Regions from separate parts of the Homo sapiens genome. Here all the other regions are linked to region 2. The links are contacts of gene promoters, found by promoter capture Hi-C in human tissues and cell types (Jung and others, 2019). All regions are on one chromosome and are shown on one strand. Each heading gives the region's core, a stretch centred on a gene start or on the middle of the fragment in contact. The rest is flanking DNA. Distances are from core to core; before and after follow the strand shown.

The links. Contacts are between HindIII fragments. The study calls those that stand out against the background at their distance.
Region 1: a fragment that was not itself captured here is called in contact with the fragment with the promoter of CXCR6 in region 2 in 1 of the 25 tissues and cell types used here (spleen).
Region 3: a contact is called between a fragment that was not itself captured here and the fragment with the promoter of CXCR6 in region 2, in 1 of the 25 tissues and cell types used here (lymphoblastoid cells).

Annotation. Positions count from the first base shown.
Region 1 is chr3:45,744,381-45,747,835 of GRCh38, reverse strand. It overlaps SACM1L (SAC1 like phosphatidylinositide phosphatase), which reads right to left. Exons shown (of 20, transcript NM_014016.5): 20 at 2,427-3,455. Among named protein-coding and RNA genes, the nearest start is that of SLC6A20, 50 kb to the left of the region's middle. The HindIII fragment of the contact is 5,647 bases long and covers 1-3,455 here.
Region 2 is chr3:45,942,185-45,945,579 of GRCh38, reverse strand. It overlaps CXCR6 (C-X-C motif chemokine receptor 6), which reads right to left and starts at 2,116. Exons shown (of 2, transcript NM_006564.2): 1 at 2,040-2,116. The region is part of intron 14 of FYCO1 (FYVE and coiled-coil domain autophagy adaptor 1); the gene reads left to right. The HindIII fragment of the contact is 14,146 bases long and covers 1-3,395 here.
Region 3 is chr3:45,701,493-45,704,764 of GRCh38, reverse strand. It overlaps SACM1L (SAC1 like phosphatidylinositide phosphatase), which reads right to left. Exons shown (of 20, transcript NM_014016.5): 2 at 1,230-1,327. Among named protein-coding and RNA genes, the nearest start is that of SACM1L, 14 kb to the right of the region's middle. The HindIII fragment of the contact is 3,935 bases long and covers 1-3,272 here.

The sequences.
Region 1 (3,455 bases), core at 181-2,680, 200 kb after region 2:
AAGTATGTGGACAAGTGGAGGATGAGCAAGATGAAGAGGAGCTTTATCGAGTGATAGAACAGCTCAGAGGAGACCTGCAGGGAGTACCTCCTTTCCGCAGCCAGGGTGTTCCGATAAGTGTTCAGCTCCTAGCAGAGAGGGTAGCTGCTCTCTCCAGGCAGGTCATCCCAAGTGTTCAGCTATCAGCAGAGAGGGTAGCTCTTCTCTGCAGCTGGTTGTCCCATTGTCTCTGCTCTGCTTTGGCTGAGCCCAGGGCCTTTCTGGGCCTCAGGAGGGAGAAACTGAATATGCCAATTGGTCCGTGGGCAGCCATAGGTGGGACCAGAAAAGGCACAAGTTCCCATTCCAGTCAGGTCCACAGAACTGGCAGCCCAGCCCCCAGCTTCCAGGCCGTCCGTGGCCTGAAGGTGGGGCCTCACCAGGGACCCGCCCCTTTCTGCCCAGGAGCCTGTCTGCCTCCTGCAGCCATCCATGGTGCCCAGACTGCTTGACCAAGGGGCACCTGCAGGTCAGCACCGAGACACCCTTAGCCTCCCCCTCAGTTTCCCCTCCCCTCCACCAGTGCTTGTTGGTGCCCAAAGTCCAGAGGGGGCCGACGTGGCAGGAGGCTGGCTTTTCAGTGCTGCCCCAAGTGTGCACACACCCTGCTGAGCTGTGACAATGCCCAGCTTCGGCTCCAACCCCACTCTGAGATCTGGCTCCCGAGGGTGCACAGTGCGGATACCCAGGTCCTGTGCCTGGGAAGGCGAGTCTCCCACCTGCTCCATGGACGTGCAGGCGGCTCTGGCCATGCCTCCTCGCAGTCTGGGGTAGGGGTTCAGGTTCCTTGCTGGGCCCATGCTGGCATCTGAGGCAAGAGTGACGTCACCACAAGTTCTTCCTGTGGTCCCAGTGCTCAGGGGTGGCCTAGGGCTCTCCCTTGCCTGGCTCACAGCCCTGCCCAGCAGGAGTGCCTCCAGGAGCGGATTGCAGGCCCTGGGCCTGGTCCTAGGGAGCATCAGGCTCAGAGGTCACCCCGCTATGAGGCAGACCCTGGGGATCCGGCCCTGGGAAATCCTGCGCAGAGCCTCCTCCCAAGGCGCAGGAATCCGGCGCCAGTCAGCAGGAAGGGTGCGGTGGCCGTGCCACTGGCTGTGTCCCCAAAGTGAGCACCGCTCCCACTTCCCACTCCAGGCCCCCAAAGGACAGCCCCAGCTCCGCACCCCAGGCGCGGCCCCCGTGCTCCATGTGCAAGCATGGCACCACCCCGGGCCCAGCTCCGCCTGTGGCCCTTCTCTGCCTGGTCCTCCATGCACAATCACGCTGCTCCCCCGCCGGCAGGCAACTCAACCTGGCCACATTGCGGCGGCCCCCCGGGAGACAGGCTCCAGGGGTATCCCTGCAGCAGGCTCCAGGGACTCTCCGCCCTCCTGGCAACAGCAAGCAACAGTGGTGGTAACGCGGACCAGGGTCCAGAGCAGTGGTGGCTCCAGGCCTGGAGGCAGGCCCCACTCGGCCACACAGGGGTGGGGGCGGCGCAGTCGGCTGCCACAGGGACACGGGGCACAGGGAACGTGGGGCACAGGGGTCTCACCATCACCACGGCTGCTCCTGCAGCCACCACTCACACCTCCCTGCTACGGCCGGCACAATGGCAGCAGCCACTCCAGACGGCCCACTGCTGCCATCACTAGGTACCAATGTGTTTCCATCACTATTTCCCTCATGCTGACACCTTCCTGTGGAGGTGTCATTTTCTAATAAGCAATATTTTCCCACATCAGCTGGGATTCATAACATTTTGAAAAACAAATTACAATTTGAAGGTGGGGGACACCTTTTTATGGACATTACACTTTACTAAATATTTCCCTGGGTTTCTCTATAACTAAAAATAAAAACTATAAGGAGATACAAAATTTCTTAAGTGATCATAACTGGAAAGCAAAATTGCAGAAGCTACTGATTTTCTTGCTTACTCTAATTTTTCTATGATGATCATGCATTGCTTTGTGTATTAATTTGTCTTCACACTGCTGTAAAGAACTACCTGAGACTGGGTAACATATAAAGAAAAGAGGTTTGACTCACAGTTCCGCATGGCTGGGGAGGCCTCACAAAACTTCATCATGGCAGAAGGTGAAGGGAAAGCAAAGCACATCTTAACACGGTGGCAGGAAAGTGAGCGAGCAAGGGGGTAAATGCCAAACACTTTTAAACCATCAGACCTCGTGCAAACTCATGAAAACAGCATGGGGGAAACCATCCCCCATGATCCAACCACCTCCCACCAGGTACCTCCCTCAACACGTAGGGATTACAATTTGAGATGAGATTTGGGTGGGTGGGGACACAGAGCCAAACCGTCTATCATTTTGCATGATTTTTAGCATTCTAAGATCAAAAAGAAAAACATCACTTTCAAAGTACATGAATGATACCAATAATAGAAAAGAATATGACATTTTATTTTCACTTATGGACATACAGTACATGAATTTAGAAATAAAATCGTCGCAGGATTCTGAAATACTGATACCTTAAGATCTAACACACTGATATTAGTCCATTCCCTACAAAGCAGCCACATTAGCAGTTCAGATTTGGTCTTTGTTGTAGCTGTTGACATTAAGTTCTTTAAGTGAAATGCCCAGCAGCATTTAAATAATATTTTACAGCAGACATGAACTAAGTTTCAATATTCCATCTTTGGAACAAATTATGCTTATTTACATGTTAACAGGTGGCTATATTTACTTACCCTATTGTGAGTTTAATGACTGATTTTAAACTACAGAGGGTTTTCCAGCTATTATTTCCTTTAGTTTCTAAAAGTAACGACTTATATTAATGTTTTATAAAAGATAGTGATGAAAAAAAGGTAATGCTGAAATAAAGGCGCTTTTAGAAATATTTAAGGACAACATAAGGTATTAATATTGGAAAAAAACTGTACATATTTTCAAGCACAACACTGAAATATTGCAGCAGTGTTTAACTGAATTATTTAAAATAGTGGTAATTATACTACCTTACATACCGTTCTAATATTTAAATCTCTTAATTACAATTTGAATATACAATCTGACTTACAATTAGAACTATGCACAGTTTCCGAAGCATATTTTTCAGGTTTGTTTTTGCACAAAAATTAACGTTTAAGTTGGTCCTTGATTTGGAGTACTATAACTACCTGGAAGCACTAAGTTTTAGACACATTCATTGATAGCCAACAAAATCCTTGACAGAGTGAAAAACATCAAGAGTACCATGCGTGAAAAAGCAGCTGTTACCCTCCAAGTGCAATATGAAATCTAGAACAAGACCCTCTCAGAGGCCTGCGTGTCTCAATGAGTGACCCTCAAAGAAACCAAAATGTATAGGAGGAAGTAGCTGACCAGTCATGGGCATCTTCCACATTGGGATAATCTTTAAAACAGAGGCAGCTTTGGACCTCTAGCGTAAGAGATAGACTT
Region 2 (3,395 bases), core at 867-3,366:
GGCCTCATTTAACAAGCAGAAAACCCAATTGAAATGGGATGCCAGATGGGCAACCTTTCTTACCCAGGGCACCAGCCCTTCAAGATGTCACTTCTCTCTGACCCTTCCCTCTGCCCTGTGACCCTGCCAAAGACCATGGACAGGACAAGGGATCATGTAACCTGTGGTGTGGGAGCAGGGGCAGCTGCGGCAACATCAGCCCATGAGTGCCAAGTCTGCCCTTGCTACAGGACTGCAGATACTCAACATGCAGCAGCTCATTTCCAGTGACCTGGAGCCATGTCTGGCCAGCACCTCTAGAAGATGTATGAAGAAGAGCAGGTGTTTGGACAGAATCTCTGCCAGCAAAGTCAAAATATTGCCTGACCAGACAAGTGCATATAAACGATGAGGTTACCTTTCCTAATCCACTCAGAAACACTTCTGTCGCTGACTTTGAGTCCTGACTGGGAGCAGTGTCTCCGATGCTGCTGCTTGCCTCTGTCTTTCCAGGGACCAAAGTGCCCTTTCTCTCTAGCAAGGAAGGATGCTGCCTTTGGGCTAAGACTGCTTAATAAAAATCCTTGCCCTTACGTCACAATTGTTAGATCTCTAAGGGTGATAGGTCAGCCAGTAGACATCCTGCCCCCCACAAGCTCTCTGGGGCACTGTATTAAGTAGGTCAGATGATGTGTATGTGTTATTGATTCACATGGGCAAAAACATATTTTTTCATCATTTAAAATATGAAACAGGTGGCTTTGCTCTTAAGAATAATGTTCAGCTCCCCATTATTGCTTGACTCGCTCTCGCCTTTTTTTGGTATCTTCCTGTTCCAGCTTTTGCTGGTCCCTTATGCTGCCATTACACATTTCCTCAAAGGACCTGTGCAAATTCATGTGTAATAATTGGTAAACTTTGATGTATAATAATTGGTAAACAGATTGGGCCTGGACAGTGCTGTGCAAATAGAGTATGAAAAATTACTTTCCCTTCTAGGCGAACTAAAAACATTCATTTCTTTATCCTCTATAATTAAAATCCTATTTTGTTTTCTGAAAATTAAAAAAAAAATCTACAACTTTGGAAGTAGTGTAAAAGTCTGATAATGATGAAGCAAATTACAATTCATACATAAAATAGAATATACTTAAATGTTTAGGAAGTATTTTTACTGATTTTGGAAAATGCAATACAGTTAAATTGCTAAGAACAGTGTAAACACAAAGTAAATATGCAAAATAAGTATTAACTATTACTATTACAACAAATAGATGTCAAAAGGATATAAAATTGTGATTCTTAACCTTTTTTGACCATAAACTCCTTTGAGAATCTCCTAAAAACTGCAGACCTTTTCTCAGAAATAATGTATATATATATACACACACACACACACACACAGACACACACGCACACACACAAACACCCCTACAATTCTGGGAGTCCATGAACCCCTTGAATCCTTCTGCCATGTATTCTGTGGGCCCTCACATAAGAGTTCATGATAAACTATGTGATTTTAACTGACCGTACTTTTAGAAACCTGGAAAAAATGATCACATTTTATTAACAGTTGGCCTCCAGCTGGTGGAATTATGGGTGACTTATTTCTTCCTTTTTTTAAAATAGTTTTCAAAGTTTCTACAGTAGTATGTTGATTTATATTGAAAAAAGAACATAAATGATAATCTGATAAAACAGCCTGTCTTATGCAAAAGAAATGAAAACAGAGATTATTCATTGAGCAAATATAGACAATAACTAGATTCTCCTTATCTCCCTGGGTGGGTCTGACTATGCCATTACTAGCAGTACCATCAGCCTGCAAGCACTAACTGTGTGCCTGGAAACATGTTCAGTAGTTTTCATGTTTCTCCAGTTTAACCCACACAGCAGCAAATGGCAGTGATGGAATTTGAACGAAGAGCAGCTGAGCTCCATAGCCTGGCATTTTGCACTGTACCCTACTACAGACAGGAATCTGAGAATACCAACAATACCTGGGGTTAGTCCTCCCTGTCTTCTTTTCAATATAAAGAGTAAAACAAATGACTCACCAGCAGAGATGCTTTGCCAGTTTGTTCCAGAGATGAGCTTGCTCATGAAGCAAGGTCTGCCTCTACTTCTGTGATGTGGTTCATGTTTCCGCTGAACATTTTTTAAGAGCCCTCAGCTGGTTACTATAAGAGACCCACCCCCTACTCCCGTCCTTCAGATCAGAATCCATATGACCAACCCGCCCCTGTGTAACGCGTGGGTCAGAGATGGATGGGTGACTGATACCCCACACTCCCTTCATTCTGCTTTGGGGCTGATTCTTCTGTCAGGGCCTGACGAGCTTTATTCGTAAACTAAAGGGGAACAATAAGGAGGTTTGGCTCTGGCCATCCACCGAAGATGGTGGCATTTGTACCTTAAAATTACTTAATTCACTAGTCAGACATCTTTTTGGAACAGTTAGGGTCTGGGCCAATGCTGAGTCCATGGTATGGGCTGGGTTCTGCGTGCATATGCAGCTCCAGCATATGTGATAGCTGTTAAGCCCCATAGCAGCCCTGCAGTGGATATTATCCTGCCTTTATAGATGAGAACACTGAGGACCATAGCCAAAATAACAAGCCCTGGTGCACACAGCTAGAAACTGGAAAATCGAAGATACACACTCAGGTATCTGTCATTACCAGACCAATCAACAGCATGATGATGGGTCTGCCAGAGGGCCTGGTGCAGCCCCACCTCCTAAGCCCACACCACTCAGGCACTCAGCAGGCAGTGCCCACCCACCCTGCGTAGGCTGGCTGGAATCATCTGGTTTCCTTGGGCTGCCCTCTGTACTCCTGGAATTCCCCAGATGTTGACTACTTTGATCTCAGTACAGTTCTAGTTGTCAGTCTCCATGATCTAACATTACTGACCCTTCTGGGAAATAACGCTGGAAGGCAGGAATTGGAGGCATGTCAGCCTGGGTCACATGCCCCAGTGCCTTGTAGTGGAGAGGGTACTAGGGAGAGGCATGGACTCGATGTCTGCTTTCCCAGAAGCAGCTGCCTTCTTGTGGAGGTGCCTGGCCTGCCTTCTCTGGCTCTGCACTCCCATTCAGGCTGCTTCTCTCCAATGCTGTTGCTCTCTCCCACCTGCTAGGCAAACCTTCTCATGTGGCTCTTCCTAAGGGCAAATGTCAAGCATTGGGAGCAGGGACCAGGAGCAGCCTCAGGATCCAGAGACTAACACTCATTTCTACCGCAAGCCTGGCCCTATGCTGGATGCTTCTATGTACAGCCATCTAATCCTAGTCACGTACAGATAGGCAAACAGAAGATTAGAGAGATTAGCCCACTTGCCCAAGAACACACATCCCTGGCAGTCACCCAGGACTGTCAGGCTGCAAAGCCAGTGCTTCCTGCCCTGCTCTG
Region 3 (3,272 bases), core at 242-2,741, 240 kb after region 2:
CTGATGACTGTTTGGCATCATCATCTTTACATTCAAACTATTCATGACCTTTAGCTTTTCAGTCTATTCAAATGGGTCTGCAATCTCTACCTACAAATAAAACATTACTGAAAGATCAAGGATAACTGAAAATACACCCACATTAAAGCTCTTGTAAGACACTAGGTTGTATCAACATGGTATAAAGAGTAGTATAATTTAAACTTTAGGAGAAGTGTACTAACACTAGTTAAAACCAGTCAGCTATCTTGAGAGAGCAGCCACCAAGCAACAGACAAATAGGAAATGTCAAATTATCAAACTAAAACAGAGCTCTAATTCCATTTGATCAAAGACAAACTATATATAGTACCTACCAGAATTACCACATAATCAAAAAAACAGAAATTTTATAGCCATACTTGTCTTACACCCCATTATCTCATGGAATATATTTTCGTACTTCACTTCACCCACTCAAAGGCTATTTACTGAATGCCTACTCTATGGTTATTCAAATATTGTACTTTAAGAAAAAAATAAATATAGAACTCTGGGGGTGAATAGAATCTTTAAACAAGTGAAATATGAAATTCTAAATATGTTATCACATGGTATATTAATTTGCCACCAAAATTATTTCGTATTTATCTATTTGGAAAGTCAGGGTGTTCCACACAAGTGAAAAAAAAGTTTGTTTTTCACATCCCAGAAAAGCATAACCAAAGTATAACTGGTTAGGTAGATAAAACTTAGAAACATCATTTGCCTAAGAACACCTACAAGTTTTAGTCAGTGAAGTATATTTTATTTTTCATTTATTAAATTTCCACATAGTCATGAAAGCTTTCAAAACAAAAGTAGCTGTTAAAATTCCATACTCTTAAAGCTGAAACAACTTTTTCACTCTCAAATATCTTAAATCTTACAGCTAGAAAGAAGCTTAGCTATCTAAACCAATCCTGTTAAAATACAGCTAAGGGAAAAAAATAATAAATATTATGTTTTTAAATCCTTACGGACAGTAAAATGCTACCTAAAATTTTCAAGATCATTTCTCCTTTTCACAGAAAAGGAGATAGCATAAAATTGATGCACCAACCTATGAATGAGGTAGCAAGAATAAAAATTTTAATAAGAATGCACTCAGAGATCCACACACTGACACACCTCTGAGTGATGTTTTTTAATTACTGTAATTTATGTATAAAATCTTTCTCCCTAAACTTCTAAATCTGGCTGTAAAATACCTGCAAGGGTAACCTCTGTGGACACACGGTCAATGGTAAGTACGTCATCTGCTCCATCATCACAAGCTTCCACATAAAATTTTTCAGGTGTGATATGCCTAAGAAGAAATGTAAAACATAAATAACTAACCAAATGAAATGAAGACTTCTAAAAAACTACTTATTATGACAATTACAGAGTATAAATTTGACATCATTTTCCCAGCTTCTAAAAGGATGAATCTGTTAAGTTTGCTGTCCTTATGAGTTCACTGCAACTCTTTTCACTTGTATATTTGATGCTGACTAGGTTTTGATTTGCTATGAAACCATCAATTTAACATATACAAAAAAATGCCATAATCAAATCTAGTTTATTATATTCAACAGGGTACAGAAGGCAATGTAGCATAGTAGGACCAGAGCCTACAGAACCAGACTACCAGTAGTGTGACCTTAGACAAGTTACTCATTCTCTCTGATCCTCTTATTCCCTTTCTGTAAAATAACGATAATACCAGATTCATCACGCAGCATCGTGTGAATTAAATGAGCTAATCTTTGGTAAGTACTTTGAACATCTGACGCATAGTAAGCAAGAGGTATTAGCTAAAAACAGTAAGAAATGCATTTTAAATAAAATATTTCCAGGAAATTTTTAAAAACAAATTACTTTAACATTCAGGTGGGGTGTTTTTTTAGAAACCCATATATATGTTCCTGAAAAAAACTCACTCTGGAAAATAAAAAATAAAGGAGGTAGAAACACGGTTGAGAGAGACTACTTAAAATTTATGCAACTTTGTAATTAGAGTCTAACAAAAATAACAGTTGGTTTCTCAAGAAACAACTTAAATAGTTCAGGCAAGCAACTCAGCATGGTGAGGGACTGACTCAGGATATACAAAATATTAACAGAATAAAGTAAAACTGCGTTTTCATTTGCAGGCACTAAAACGATGCAGACTGAAGTAGAACTCCAAGCCACTGATGGAGACTGCTGTTTTAAGGTAGGCACAGGAGAAGATACAACCTTTCCAGAAGCTGAGCAAGGCTGGGGAGGGAGGCTGAGTCCAAGAACTATTTCTTTTTCCAGAAACTAATCTTTATTGTTCACAAACCAGACTTAAAAGAATTTCTATCTGTTCTATCTGTGCAGCAGCCAATCTGAGGGCTTTTTCTTTTCCTTTTTAATTCTACTCCCACTTGCCTATGAAAAATCTCATTCAAACCCACACAACCATCATGGACATCATTTTCTATTTACCAATTGTGTATAAGCTATTTGGCATTATAGAAAAATGTCCTGCAGCAAAACAAACTTTTGACTCTTTTTTACTGCAAGTTCTCTGAGGAATAATCAATCCTTAATTACCCAAATATAACTTACAACCTTCTATGGTTCATCTGTAACTAACTAAATATTAGGCTAGTTTCCTTCATTTGGGGGGATATGCTAAGTAAAGGAAAATCAATACAACAAAGAAAGCAAATCTGCTTCAAATACAGCAATCTTCAATTTAACCTGAACACAACAATTCATTCCTTTTTATTACTGAATAGCATTCCATTGTACGGATATATCATAATTTGTTGATCCATTCATTTGTTGATGGCTATTTGGTAACTTTGGTTTTGGGTTACTATGAATAAAGGAACGGTTCTAGGAACATTCTTGTATAAAAGTCTTAAGGCAGATGTTCACTTCTCTTGGTTAACTCCCTAGAAGTGGAACAGCTGGATCATATGGCACATATATGTTTAACTTGTGCAGGAAGGGAGAAAAAGGAGGGATTACAGGCACGAGGAAACGTTTCAGGGTGACGGATACGTTCAATATTGTAATACTGGCAATGGTTTCATGGGTGTAAAAATGTCAAAATTTATCAAACTGTACACTTCCCTTTTCCATGTGTGTAGTTTATTGTATGTCAATCAAACTTCAATAAAGCTATAAAAAGAAAACAAAGTGAAAGGTCCTAAAACCAAAGAAATATAAAGAAATTCGAGACATCTAGTCTTAAGCCATTTTTTTTAAACCCACTATTTCAGTCCGTATCTACA